Linked DNA regions of Homo sapiens: region 2 is linked to region 1. Evidence: promoter capture Hi-C in human tissues and cell types (Jung and others, 2019). All regions are on one chromosome and are shown on one strand. The core of a region is centred on a gene start or on the middle of the fragment in contact, and the rest is flanking DNA. Distances in the headings are between cores, read along the strand shown.

The links. Contacts are between HindIII fragments. The study calls those that stand out against the background at their distance.
Region 2: a fragment that was not itself captured here is called in contact with the fragment with the promoter of ZNF717 in region 1 in 2 of the 25 tissues and cell types used here (mesendoderm cells and thymus).

The regions. Positions count from the first base shown.
Region 1 is chr3:75,780,912-75,787,463 of GRCh38, reverse strand. It overlaps ZNF717 (zinc finger protein 717), which reads left to right and starts at 1,915. Exons shown (of 5, transcript NM_001290208.3): 1 at 1,915-2,080; 2 at 4,100-4,158. The coding sequence starts at 4,102. RefSeq lists an enhancer at 1,653-1,802. The HindIII fragment of the contact is 7,615 bases long and covers 257-6,552 here.
Region 2 is chr3:75,729,044-75,735,575 of GRCh38, reverse strand. It overlaps a transcript of ZNF717 not described here. Among named protein-coding and RNA genes, the nearest start is that of MIR4273, 6.0 kb to the left of the region's middle. The HindIII fragment of the contact is 4,652 bases long and covers 1,111-5,762 here.

The sequences.
Region 1 (6,552 bases), core at 666-3,165:
TTCCGCTATGTAACCCCTGCCAATCATCGTGTATTTAAAGGATCCCCAGATACCATACCAATAGGTGTTCAAGAGAGAGGCCTGTAATCTAGGCGTCTGAGAAAGCAAGGCTAGAGATTCCGATATTGGAGACAACAGGGCTCTGGGAAGATTAAGGTTGAGTTTTCTGGATCTGCAGAATAGAGTCACTGAGGAGCAATTGCAAGATCCGAGGAGATGAAAGAACAAGTCAGGGCATGCTTAGGAAAAGAGAAAACCAGGGATAGGTTTTAGGCAAGAGTCACACTGAGGAAGGGCAGGTTCTTGGCGTCGCTCAGGAAGGAATCCAAAAGCAAGCCTGTGGTGGAAGAAAGCAGCTCTACGGAGGCACTGGCGGTGTTACAGCCCTGCGTCCACTCCTGCAGGGCAGGGAGCCCTCCGTGGGTTGTGCTCCCAGAGTAGCAGCCTGGGGGTGGCTTGCAGTCATTTTTATAATTCACTTTTAATGGCATGCTAATTAAGGGGCGGGTTATTCAGAAATAGCTAGAAATGGGCAGTAACTTCCAGCTGTTTCCATGGCAAGGGGTGGGGACTTCCCGTGCTGCCGTGGCATTGGCAAACTGTCACGGCACTGGTGGAAGCGTCTTCTGGTGATCTGAGGCGTGAGGTGCTTTCGCTGCCTCTCCCAGTCTCCTGCGTGCCTCTTACCTGAAAGCCCTTCACACCCTCATCTGCCCACCTACAAACTTCACTGCCCTTTCACCCCAACCCCGTTTCACACGCACTCCCACATCAACCCTGAGCATTCAAGCTTGCGTTTCCCTGTTAGGAACCTCGGTGGTGGCCGGAGCTCTGAGAAACCCCTAGGCAGAAATCCTTGCCTAGTTTGTGGCAGAAATCAGGGAAGGAAAGGCAAAGTTCAGGTCTTTCTCACAATAAATAAATAAAGATAGCTAGATTTGATTGATTGGTGGATGGATGAAACGTGGGAGTTTATGGGCAAATATTTATCAGACACTGGAAGTGTAAGTTGTCACAAAGATTATGGAGTGCACCTGTCTTATGACCCTGTTATTTTATCCCAGTATATGCACTAGAGCATTTTTTGTAACTGTGTAAATTGAAGGCTTATAAATTAGTTTAGTGAGAGAAAAGATAACGGATTGGAAGAGAATTACCATATTCATTAGTTGTGTTTTTAAAATTTTAAAGTAAAATAGAGACATGATTTTTTTCATGCTTTCGAATGCATTTATAAAAAATAGACTTGAGGGCTGGGCGCAGTGGCTCACGCCTGTAATCCCAGCACTTTGGGAGGCCGAGGAGGGCGGATCACGAGGTCAAGAGTTCGAGACCAGCCTGACCAACATGGTGAAACCCCGTCTCTACTAAAAATACAAAAATTAGGTGAGTGTGGTGGCGCGCACCTGTAATCCCAGCTACTCAGGAGGCTGAGGCAGGAGAATCGCTTGAACCCGGGAAGCGGAGGTTGCAGTGAGCCGAGATCGCACCATTGCTCTCCAGCCTGGGTGACAGAGTGAGACTCCGTCTCAAAAAAAAAAAAAAAAAAAAAGTTACTCATTAATAGCATAGACCAATTGGCCTCTATTGAAATTTCTCCATTATTTTCACAATGTGCCAGGCTGTGAAACCAGGATTTAATAAAGAACCAGAATGCCACATCTGTGTCACCTGGGTAGGGACCAGTCCTGATCCATTAAGTCCGGGTCTCTGGGTAACTGGACTCACTGCTGGGCAAAACAGAATGTCCGGCTTGGGTTCCTAACCGGGGACCGCAGAGCCTCATGGGAAATGTAGTGTCACCTTCCAATGATGTTACCATCAAGGACCTTGGGAACCAGCTTTTCTCTCTGCGCATGCGCCGCCCCGCCCACTCCGCCATTTTCCTCCGGAAGTGCGGCACCCAGAGGCGGTCTTGTAGCTGGGCCAGCCTGGGGCTTGGTTCTATGTCCCTGCGGGTCGGTGCGAGGGCGAAGAGGAACCCGTGGGCCCGGGGGATCCCGGGGGGCCGGACCAGTGTTCCCCAGTTGTGGGAGCAGACGCGTGGGCGCATCGCGGGCGGGCAGGGCCTGAAGTGCAGGTGCAGGCCGCGGACCCTGGCGGGGGCTGGGAGGACAGGCGTGGGGTCCCGGCAGTGAAGCGGGTTCTAGAGGCGCAGGAGCGGGTAGGCGAGGCCGGTGGCCCTGGGCCCGGAGTCTGCAGGCCGCGCTCCTGTCCTGCCGCTGAGGGAGCCGGTTACCAACCCGCATGACGCTCAGTTTGCCCATCTGTCCCAGTGCGAACACACAGTTCTCGGGAGACGTTCCCCATTCCCAGAGGAGTAGTGCGAAACGCGTGCGCCTCGAGTCTTAAACTGGGCGTTTGTATTAGTTGGGTTTCCCGGTGTCTCTTTAGCAAGTGAAGTTTCTGGTTCCCTCCTTCACTGTGTGACCTGCCTAGTCCTCCTGGGTTGCGTTTACAGAAGTTTATACGAGACCTAGTTTCCAGGGAAGAACTCACTGATGCCGCGAGGGAGATGGGGTACTGGATGATGGTCTTCAGCCTTAAGGGTACTTCAGTCTTAACCGTGTGTTATAAGGTTTGAAAGGGAGGGTTCCCTATGAATAAGAAGCGCACTTGAAAGAACAGCCCTCTGGTCTAACCTCCCACTGGTGCTTCAGAGGAGGATAAAAGGTCACAGGTGAAGATCCCAGTTTTCCTCGCTCGGGAAATATTAATTCTACTCCCTAGAATGCACAAGATTTGCAAAGACTAGGTGACAGTGGTAGGTTTGGACGAACTTTCAGAAGGTTGAGGTGAATTCGGCTGAGAAGAACAGGCAAGGACCTAGGAAATATTCCTTATTTGAAGGGGCCTGAAAGTGTGGTCTGGGGTACAGGAGTGACCTGTCATACCTGAGAAGATTAAAATACTCTCCAAACACAGTCCCATTCCTTCAACCTTTCCTCGTTGTTTCCAGCGTTTGAGATATATTAAACCTAGTCCATCACCAAATTTAGCTTTAGCATTAGATTGTGAAGTTCTATCGATTGTATTTGATTTGTAATTTAAGACTTTCTCCCCCTACGTAATTTTGTTAAAAACATATTGAATTCTGTTCACTTAGGTGTAACAGTTAATACTTGCTGTTTAAGGAACTAATTAAACCTTACTGGCTTATAAAAAACAACCACCATTTTATTTGTTTGAAGTTCTGTGGATCTGCATTTTGGTGTGGTGGGTTCAGCTGGGTAGTTGATATATTTATGTTGCCTGGATCACAAAAGAGGCCTTGGTCACATGGTGGGTTGACTGAGCCTGGTTGGTTTAAGATAGTTTCCTTCACAATCTGGCGGTTTGTGGTGACTCTTGGCTAGGCCCTGTGTCTCCACCAGGGTAGCTCCAGACCTCCTCACAATATGACTGTGTCCAAAAAGGCAAGAACCAATGGATATTTGCATCACATTTTCCATTGTCCATTCACTGGACAAGTCAGATGGAAAAGCCCAATTTATTGTCAGAGCATAATATGAGGGCTTGGATACAGGGAAAGGTGTTATTGGGAAACATGAGTAGAATGGTGTACTGCAGGAAATACATATTATGTACATTTAAAAAAAAGTAATTGTAGGCCAAAATTGCTGGGTTGCAAGATGCACTTTCCATGATGTTCAGGTATAGAAAAGCAAGATGTACTGTCATGGGAACACTCATATGAAGTTATTTGTGGAATCCACATATTAATAGGAAAATAGTTAATACAGCCCAGTATATTTCTATAACATTTATTTTAGTGAACTTATAATGTTTCTTTGTATTAAATTATTAGATTGTATCTTTAGGTAATATTGTTGCTAAATTAGTAGGTAATACATATTTTTATTCAAAATAAATTGTGCATCTAATGTCTACCAATTAATGTACTTGTAGATGTATCTTATCTTGAGTCTTTGCTGCCCCTAATGAGGCTTGAAGGACTCTTCTCCCATGGGGAAGTTTTTCTTTTTCAGGAGGGAGGAGGGCTTTTCCAGGTAATGTGTCTAGAGTGTTGGGCAGAAGAATCTGGGACCACACCACACCAGTTCTCTCCTTAATTCACGTCATTTGCCTTCTCTCTCAGCTATGTTTCCAGTGTTCTCTGGCTGTTTCCAAGAGCTACAAGAAAAGAATAAATCTCTGGTGAGTTGTTTATTTGTTCTTCACTTTGTTTTACACTGTATTTTCTGAGTTTATGGGTGTCTGTGAATTAAAAAAGAAAAGTGGAAATAAGTAAAACTCAGGTTGAAGGAAATATACATAAATAAGATAAAGCTGACCTGTAGATATAGACAGGTTGTAAGAGCTTAGAGTTGTCTAAGTTGAGTGCAAATTTTCCTCTGATCTTTCTGATGCAGTGACAAAAAAGTCAGTCATGGTTGTTACGTGATTGGAATGGAACCCGCGAAGAGAGCATGCTGTGTTCTTGTGGGACAGGAAAGCTTGTGTGCACCAAGTCTGAACCACCACCTTCGGTGGTGACATAGGTTATGTGCTGGAACATATTTCACACCAGCCTGGCAGTAAATACTTGTAGTGTTGTGCAGTGGAAACGGTCATCTTCTGCTAAAGCACGGCATGTTGTGCAGTGGAAACGGTCGTCATCCGCTAAAGCACGGCGTGTTGTGCAGTGGAAATGGTCATCTGCCGCTAAAGCACGGTGTGTTGTGCAGTGGAAACGGTCATCGTCCGCTAAAGCACGGCATGTTGTGCAGTGGAAATGGTCATCTGCTGCTAAAGCATAGTGTGTTGTGTAGTGGAAATGGTCATCTGCCGCTAAAGCACAGTGTGTTGTGCAGTGGAAATGGTCATCTGCCGCTAAAGCACAGCTTCCATCATAAGGTATGCTCCTTGCTGTGGTGGAACATATTTCACACCAGCCTGGCAGTAAACACTTGTAGTGTTGTGCAGTGGAAACAGTCATCTTCCACTAAAGCACGGCCTGTTGTGCAGTGGAAATGGGCATCTGCTGCCAAAGCACAGCTTCCATTGTAAGGTATGCTCCTTGCTCAAAGAGTGTGGTCCCAAACAGCTTTTGGGAGGTGCTCCTTGATTCATGGATGAAACCTGGAACATCTTGAGAACTGAGTTAACCACAGGTCCTTAAATAACTCTCCACACCTTTATCTTAGTTTATCTCTACATGCAGGGTGTGCAGCAGCCTGTTCAAAGTTATATTTTCTGGGAAATACTTCCAGTGTTTATTTGCACTTTAGCCCACTCTGTGTAGTCCTAACTTATTTCTTCTAAACTCACCATTAACCTAAATAATAGTCAAATTTAGGGGGACTGTGATTGCCTTACTCGAGTCTTCTACCATAGTTGAAACTGTCGTATCCGAGCGAGTTAGAGAGAAACGCCACACTTTGAGACGAGTTCAGGAGTCCTTTATTAGCCAGCGACTGAGAGATGGCTAACGCACGAAATTCTCTCGGCCCCGGATAAGGGGCTAGCTTTTCTTTTATACTTTGGTTTAGAGAGGGGAGGGGGGATTCTAGCTGCAGCAACCTTACAGAAGAAAAAACAGACAAAAAAGTTAAAACGACAGATGGTTACAGGAAAACAAACTGTTCCAGGTGCAGGGGCTTTAAATTCACCACAAAGTGATAGGTGAGGGGGCTCTGGGCGTTAGCTGCCGGACAAATGTGCGGGCTTTATGATACTATCTCTGAGTAAATTGCTGGGAACTGCAGACATCACTTGCCTCAGCGCTTTATCAGTTAATTGCAGTCTTTGATATGTTGAAAGTCAGCTTGCACAAGTTAAAGTCCTTGAGGAAAGGGAGTGGGTAAGGAGCCCTTGATGTCTTATAAATGAAGGAGCCAAATGGAGTTTGTCCGGTTTTCTCAGCTAAGGGAGAGTCTATTCATATTAAAAACAAGGTTAGGTATCTAAGGACGAGTCTATTCATGTTAACACAACTTTGGGTATTACAAAATGTCTGTTCATGATCTGGAAATTCTTCTGTGTTAGTTCTGTTAAAAGAAAAACTTTAAAGGAGTTTAGTTGAGCAATAAACGATTCATGAATCGGAGAGTCCCCAGAAACACAGCAGATTCACAGAGACTCCAGCACAGTCATTTGGTGGAAGAAGATTTATAGACAAAAGGGAAGTGGCATACCGAAATCAGAAGTGAGGTACAGAAACAACTCAGCATTTGCCTTGTTTGAACACAGTTTGAACACTTGGCAGTGCCTGAGTGGTTGAAGTTTGGCCACTGGGATTGGCCAAGACGCAGCTGTTGTTCCAGGTGCATACTCTCAAGTTAGGTTTTCATTCTTGTCTACCTATTAAGGTAGGTTGCAGTTCATCCACAAGGACTCATATATAGAATTATGGAGTCCTTCTCAGGCCATACTTAGTTCACTTTAACAATTCCTTCCCTTTGGTTATTTTCTCAATTTTGAGAGATTGGCCAAAACTTCAGTCACTGGTGTCACTATTACCATTGCAAATGTACTTACTTGCTTTAGAAACCCACTGGGAAATAGACCAGTGAGTTTTGAAAAGGTGGACCAAGGACTTGAGTAGAAGGT
Region 2 (6,532 bases), core at 2,187-4,686, 53 kb after region 1:
CCTCATGGGTTCAAGTGATCCTTCCACCTCAGTCTCCCAATTAGCTAGGACTACAAGTATGCAATTAGCTAGGACTACAAGTATGCACCACAATACCTGGCCTTTTCTTTTCTGTAGGGACAGGGTCTCACTGTATTGCTCAGGATAGTCTCTAACTCCTGGACTCAAGCCATCTTTCTACCTTGGCAAGAGCCACTATACCTGGCCTGTTTTCTCTTTTAGCATTTCTATACTTTGGTTTTTACTAGTTGCCCTGGAGTTTGCAGTATAGACTTGCAACAAATCCAAGTCCACCTTCAAATAACACTATACCAGTTCAGTTACTTCGACTGCCTTCTAATAGAAATGTAATACCAGTTTCTCTCATATTCCTATGTCTTGTGTTATTGTTGCCATTTGTTTCACTTATATGTAAGCATACATAGCCTTGTATATATTAAAGTATGTAATTGGCTGGGTGCCTTGGCTCAAGCCTGTAATCCCAACACTTTGGGAGGCTGAGACAGGTGGATCATGAGGTCAGGAGATGGAGACCCTCCTTGCTAACATGGTGAAACCCCATCTTTACTAAAAATACAAAAAATTAGCTGGACGTGGTGGCACACGCCTGTAGTCCCAGCTACTCGGGAGGCTTGGACAGGAGAATTGCTTGAACCAGGGAGGAGGTGGAGGTTGCAGTGAGCTGAGATTGCACCACTGCACTCCAGCCTGGGTGACAGAGCAAGACTCTCTCAAAAAAAAAAAAAAAAAAAAAAAAATATATATATATATATATATATAATTGCATACATTGTTATTATATACAAACTGTTATATGTTAGGTCAATTAAGAATAAAAAGCAGCCAGGTACGGTGGCTTATGCCTGTAATCCCAGGACTTTGGGAGGCCGAGGTGGGCAGATCATGAGGTCAGGAGATTGAGACCATCCTAGCTAAATGGTGAAATCCCATCTCTACTAAAAATACAAAAACAAAATTAGCCGGGTGTGGTGGTGGGTGTCTGTTGTCCCAGCTACTCGGGAGGCTGAGGCAGGAGAATGGCATGAACCTGGAAGGCAGAGCTTGCCGTGAGCTGAGATCACGCTACTGCACTCCAGCCTGGGTGACAGAGTGAGACTCCATCTCACAAAAAAAACAAAAAAACAAAAAAAACCCATTTTACCACCACTTATTCCTTCTCTAATGTTCTTTTTAAAATGTAGATTCAAGCCAGGTGTGGTGGCTCACACCTGTAATCCCAGCACTTTGGGAGGCCGAGATGGGTGGATCATGAGGTTAGGAATTCAAGACCAGCCTGGCAAAGATGGTGAAACACTGTCTCTAATAAAAATACAAAAAAATTAGCCAGGCGTGGTGGAGGGCTCCTGTAATCCCAGCTACTTGGGAGGCTGAGGCAGAGAATTGCTTGAACCTGGGAGGCAGAGGTTGCAGTGAGCCGAGAATGTGCCACTGCACTCCAGCCTGGGCAACAGAGAGAGACTCTGTCTCAAAATAAATAAATAAAAATAAATAAAATGTAGGTTCAGTTTTCAGATGTGTATCTTTTTTTTTCCTCTAGATAATGTTTAATATTTTCTCACATGACACATCTGCTGGTAACAAGTTTCCTCAACTTTTGTTTGTCCAGGGAATGTTTTATTTCTCATTTACTTTTGAAAGAAGATCTCACAGGGCACTGAAATCTTAGTTGATGGTTTTTTTTTTTTCCTCTCAGCATGTTTAATATGTCATTCCACTCTCTTTTTACTTTCATGGTTCTGAGATGTTGAATGTAATTTTTTTTTTTTTTTTTTTTTTGAGATAGAGTCTTGCTCTGTCACCCAGGCTGGAGTGCAGTGGTGTGATCTCAGCTCACTGCAAGCTCTGCCTCCCGGGTTCATACCATTCTCCTGCCTCAGCCTCCCGAGTAGCTAGGACTATGAGCTCCCACCCCTACGCCTGGCTAATTTTTTGTATTTTTTCGTGGAGATGGGGTTTCACCGTGTTAGCCAGAGTGGTCTCGATCTCCTGACCTCATGATCCACCCACCTTGGCCTCCCAAAGTACTGGGATTACAGGCATGAGCCACCGAGCTCAACCTGAATGTGATTCTTATCTTTGTTTCTCTATAGGTAAGATGTTGTCCACTCCACCTTTGGTTTCTTTTGGAGCTGATGTTTTATACAGTTGGAGAATAATATGCCTAGGTGTAGGTTTTTGGCATGTATCCTGCCTGGTGTGCTCTGAGCTTCTTGGATCTTTGGTTTGGTGTCTGACATTAACAGTGGAAGTTGTCAGACATGATTGTTGCAGATGTTTCTTCTATTTCTCTCTTTTTCCTTCTAGTATTCTCATCACTCTATGTTACACCTTTTCTAGCTGTCCCACAGTTCTTGGATATTACATTCCATTCTTTTCAGTTTTTAAAGTTTCTTTCAAAGTTTCCAGAACTCAGAGACTCTTTCCTTTGTTGTGTTCAATCTACTAATAAGCCAATCAAAGACATTCTTCAGGTCTTTTGCAGTATTTTTTTTATCTCTACTGTTTCTCTTTTGTTCTTTCCTTGGACTTCTATCTCTCTGCTTACATTGCCTATCTGTTCTTGAATGCTGTCTCCTTTGTTCATCAGAGCCCTTAGCATACTACTCAGAGATTTTTTTTTAAAATCCCTGTCTGATAATTCCAATATCATAGGTGTGTCTGGTTCTGATGATCTGTCACTTCAAATTGTGTTTTTTGCCTTTTAGTATGCCTTGTGCTTTTTCTTTATTCCTAGATATGAGATACCAGGTAAAAGGAACTACTGTAACAGTGCATCCAGTAATGATGGGAAGCTGTGGAGGGGAGGGGAAGCTGTCTTAGTCCATCCACCAGCATAACTTAGAGCAAGTAATTTGTAAACAACAGAAATTTATTGCTCAATTTAGAGGCTAGAAAATCCAAGGTCAAGGTTCCAGGAGATTCAGTGTTTGATGAGACCCATTCCTCGTAGATGGTGCCAGCTATATGTCCTCTCATGTTGAAATGGACAAAGAAGCTTCATTTGGCCTGTTTCATAAGTGCACTAATCCCAATCAGGTTGGCTTTGCCATTACCTTTCAAAGGTCCCACCCCTTAATTCTAGTGCATTGGAGACTCGGTTTCAACAGGCACATTTTGCAGGGGGTCCAGCAGGGAACAGATATTCAGACTGTAGCAGAAGAGTTCTGGAGTCTTACGACTGGGCCTCATTGTTTAAGTGAGTCTCTGCTTTTGGACTATGAACTTCACATGTGTTTCTCTGTTTTTATCTTCCCCTTTAGGGATGACTGGAGTAGGCTGGAGTTGGGAATTTCCCTTCCAGCAGGTCATTTAGGATCTGGTTATATGAGAGCAGGTTAGGCTGAGGTTCAGTAATTTCTCCTGAGGATAAGCCTTGTTAAGAACAGGTTGCTCTGGCATATTTTAAGATGGTTTTCCTTTTTCCTTCCCAAAGGTGGAAGCAAGAAGCAAGTTTTCTCAGGTATTTGCCACAGGAGCCTGGTGGAGCTCCAGGAGGTAAATTTTACAATATTATGCTCCCTCATAACTGGATCTCCCTGGTGTTTTTACCTCCTTGAGTTGTCCATATGGAACCTTCAGCAATTCACCAGTTATAGTTCAAGATTTTCTACTCCAGCACTGGTTCCTAAGGTGGTTTCAGTAGTGAGTCTCTGTTCCTGTAAGCCATAAATTCCCATATTCACTTCTCTATCTCTCCAATCTTGGGGGCAGTGGTTTGCCCTATGTCCTCTCTTCACATTCAAATCCAAAAAGGATTGTTGATTTTTCAGTCTCTTCAGCTTTTGTTTTATTTAAATTTTTTTTTTAGAGTTGGGGGTCTCACTATGTTGCACAGGCTGGTCTCAAACTCCTGGACTCAAGGGATCCTCCTGCTTTGGCCTCCCAAAGTGCTGGGATTACAGGCATGAGCCACCACACCTGACCTTTTCAGCTTTTCATGTGTTGTTAAGGTGGACTGATTACTTCCATTCTTTTTTTTTTTCTTCCTTTTTTTGAGATGGACTCTCACTTTGTTGCTCAGGCTGGAGTGCAGTGGTGCAATCTCAGCTCACCTTAACATCTGGCTCCCAGGTTCAAGTGATTCTCCCTGCCTCAACCTCCTGAGTAGCTGAGATTACAGGCACCCACCACCATGCTGGCTAATTTTTGTATTATTATTATTTTATTTTTTAATTTTTTGAGGCAGAGCTCACTCTGTCATCCAGGCTGTAGTGCAGTGGCATGATCTTGGCTCACTGCAACCTCCACCTCCCAGGTTCAAGCAATTCTTCTGCTTCAGCCTCCCAAGTAGCTGGTACTACTGGCACACACCACCACACTTCGCTAATATTTGTATTTTTAGTAGAGATGGGGTTTTGCCATGTGGGCCAGGTTGGTCTGAAACTCCTGACTTCATGTGATCCACCCACCTCAAGCTCCCGAAGTGCTGGGGTTACAGGTGTGAGCCTCCATGCCCAGCCTAATTTTTGTATTTTTAGTAGAGACAGGGTTTTGCCATGTTGACCAGGTTGGTCTTGAACTTCTGACTTCAGGTGATCTGCCCACCTCGGTCTCCCAAAGTGCTGGGATTACAGGCATGAGCCACTGCACCTGGCTACTTCTAAGCTTCTTACATGCAGAAATCAGAACCTGGAATCTGTTTCTAAGACTTATCTTCTTAATGCCTATGTGGACAATTAAAGGATTTTTCTCCTCAGGACTCTGAATATGATGAATTGTATTAGTAGACTTTCTAATATTGAGCTTTTCTTAATTTGTGAAATAAACTCAGAAAGTTCCTTCTTGGTTTTAACAGTCTATTTCTGTTTGTAAATATTAGTATTTCTGTGGATTCTGTACTTGTTCCTTGTTATCCTTTCATTCTCTTAGGTTCATTTGGTCTGATGGATTCAGGTACCATTGAAATTCTGATAGTTTCAAAATCTTTTATCTCCAGGTTTGATCTCTCTTGTGAACTCTGGAACTGTATTCCCAATTGTCAATTGGACATCCCTACGTATGGGACCTCAGATATTTCAAACATGATGTGTCCAAGTCTGTATCACTTCTGGCCATCATATTGTTCTTTTATTTTTCCAAATTTCACATCACCAGTAACAAACTAGCTGTGATCATGGCAGATAGCCTGGAAATAAAACTCCCCTTTTTACCCTTTGCACAGCAAATTGACATCAAATCCTGTTTCTACTTTTTTTTTTTTTAACTATTGCTTCCCTATTCTGTATTCTCACTGCTCCATCTCCTGATGTAGGAGGTCATCTGTTTTCCTCTTTTCCTCTCCTCTGACTCTTAAGCCCTTTCCCATTCTCTTTCTCAGGAATGGCTGTTAAAATGCCAATATGGTCTTGTAACTTTCCTGTACTTAGTGAACCTCCTTATTTACACCCTGTTTGTGAAGTGGCTGTGTTCACCCTGGGTGGACACGGAATGTTTTTGTCATGTACAAAGAGAATTTTATGCTGCCTGTGTACAGTTATTAATTTGTAAGTACACTCAGCTTTTTGTATCTGTAGGTTTAATATCTGTGTATGTAAGCAAACTTGGATGCAAAATATTTGAAATAAAATCAGATGCTTGCATCTGTAGTGAACATATTCAGACTTTTTCTTGTCATTATTTCCTAAACAACACAACTATTTACATCCACATTGTATTTGGTCTTCTAAGTGTGAAAGGAAAATAAAGCTTGGGACTCCAAACTCATTAAACTAAAGGGAAAAGTCAAGCTGGGAACTCGGTCATGCAAACCTGCCTCCTTCTTTTGGTTCCTAAATAAGATGGCTCCAAGATAAAAAGCTTTTTGTCTTGTAGCCCCCTCCATCATATTTTTCCCACAAGGAAATTTCTGGTGTGCTTTAAGATCTTTAAAGTGTTTCTGTTAAAATTCATCATAGCAATGTAAATTGATAGCTTATCCTTTTTTTTTTTTTTTTTTTTTTGATATGGAGTTTCGCTATTGTCACCCAGGCTGGAGTGCAATGGCACAATCTCGGCTCACCGCAACCTCCGCCTCCCGGGTTCAAATGATTCTCCTGCCTCAGCCTCCTGAGTAGTTGGGATTACAGGCATGCACCACCACACTTGGCTAATTTTGTATTTTTAGTAGAGATGGGGATTCTCCATGTTGGTCAGGCTGGTCTCGAACTCCTGACCTCAGGTGATCCACCCACCTCAGCCTCTTAGAGTGCTGGGATTACAGATGTGAGCTGCCACACCTGGTCTGATAGCTCTTCTTTACAGTGCATAGGACAGAACTCAGAGTCACCCTTCTGCCCACCTGACACAAATGCATATCTGATTGTTCCCCTCCCTCTTTGTCTATGCTATGTATAAATGCAGATTCACTGAGCCAAAGGCATGGATGACTGTATCAGTCTGTTCTCACCCCTCTGCCTACCTGACACAAATGCATATCTGATTGTTCACCCTCCCTGTTTGTCTATGTTATGTATAAATGAGATTCACTGAGCCAAAGGCATGGATGACTGTAGCAGTCTGTTCTCACCCCTCT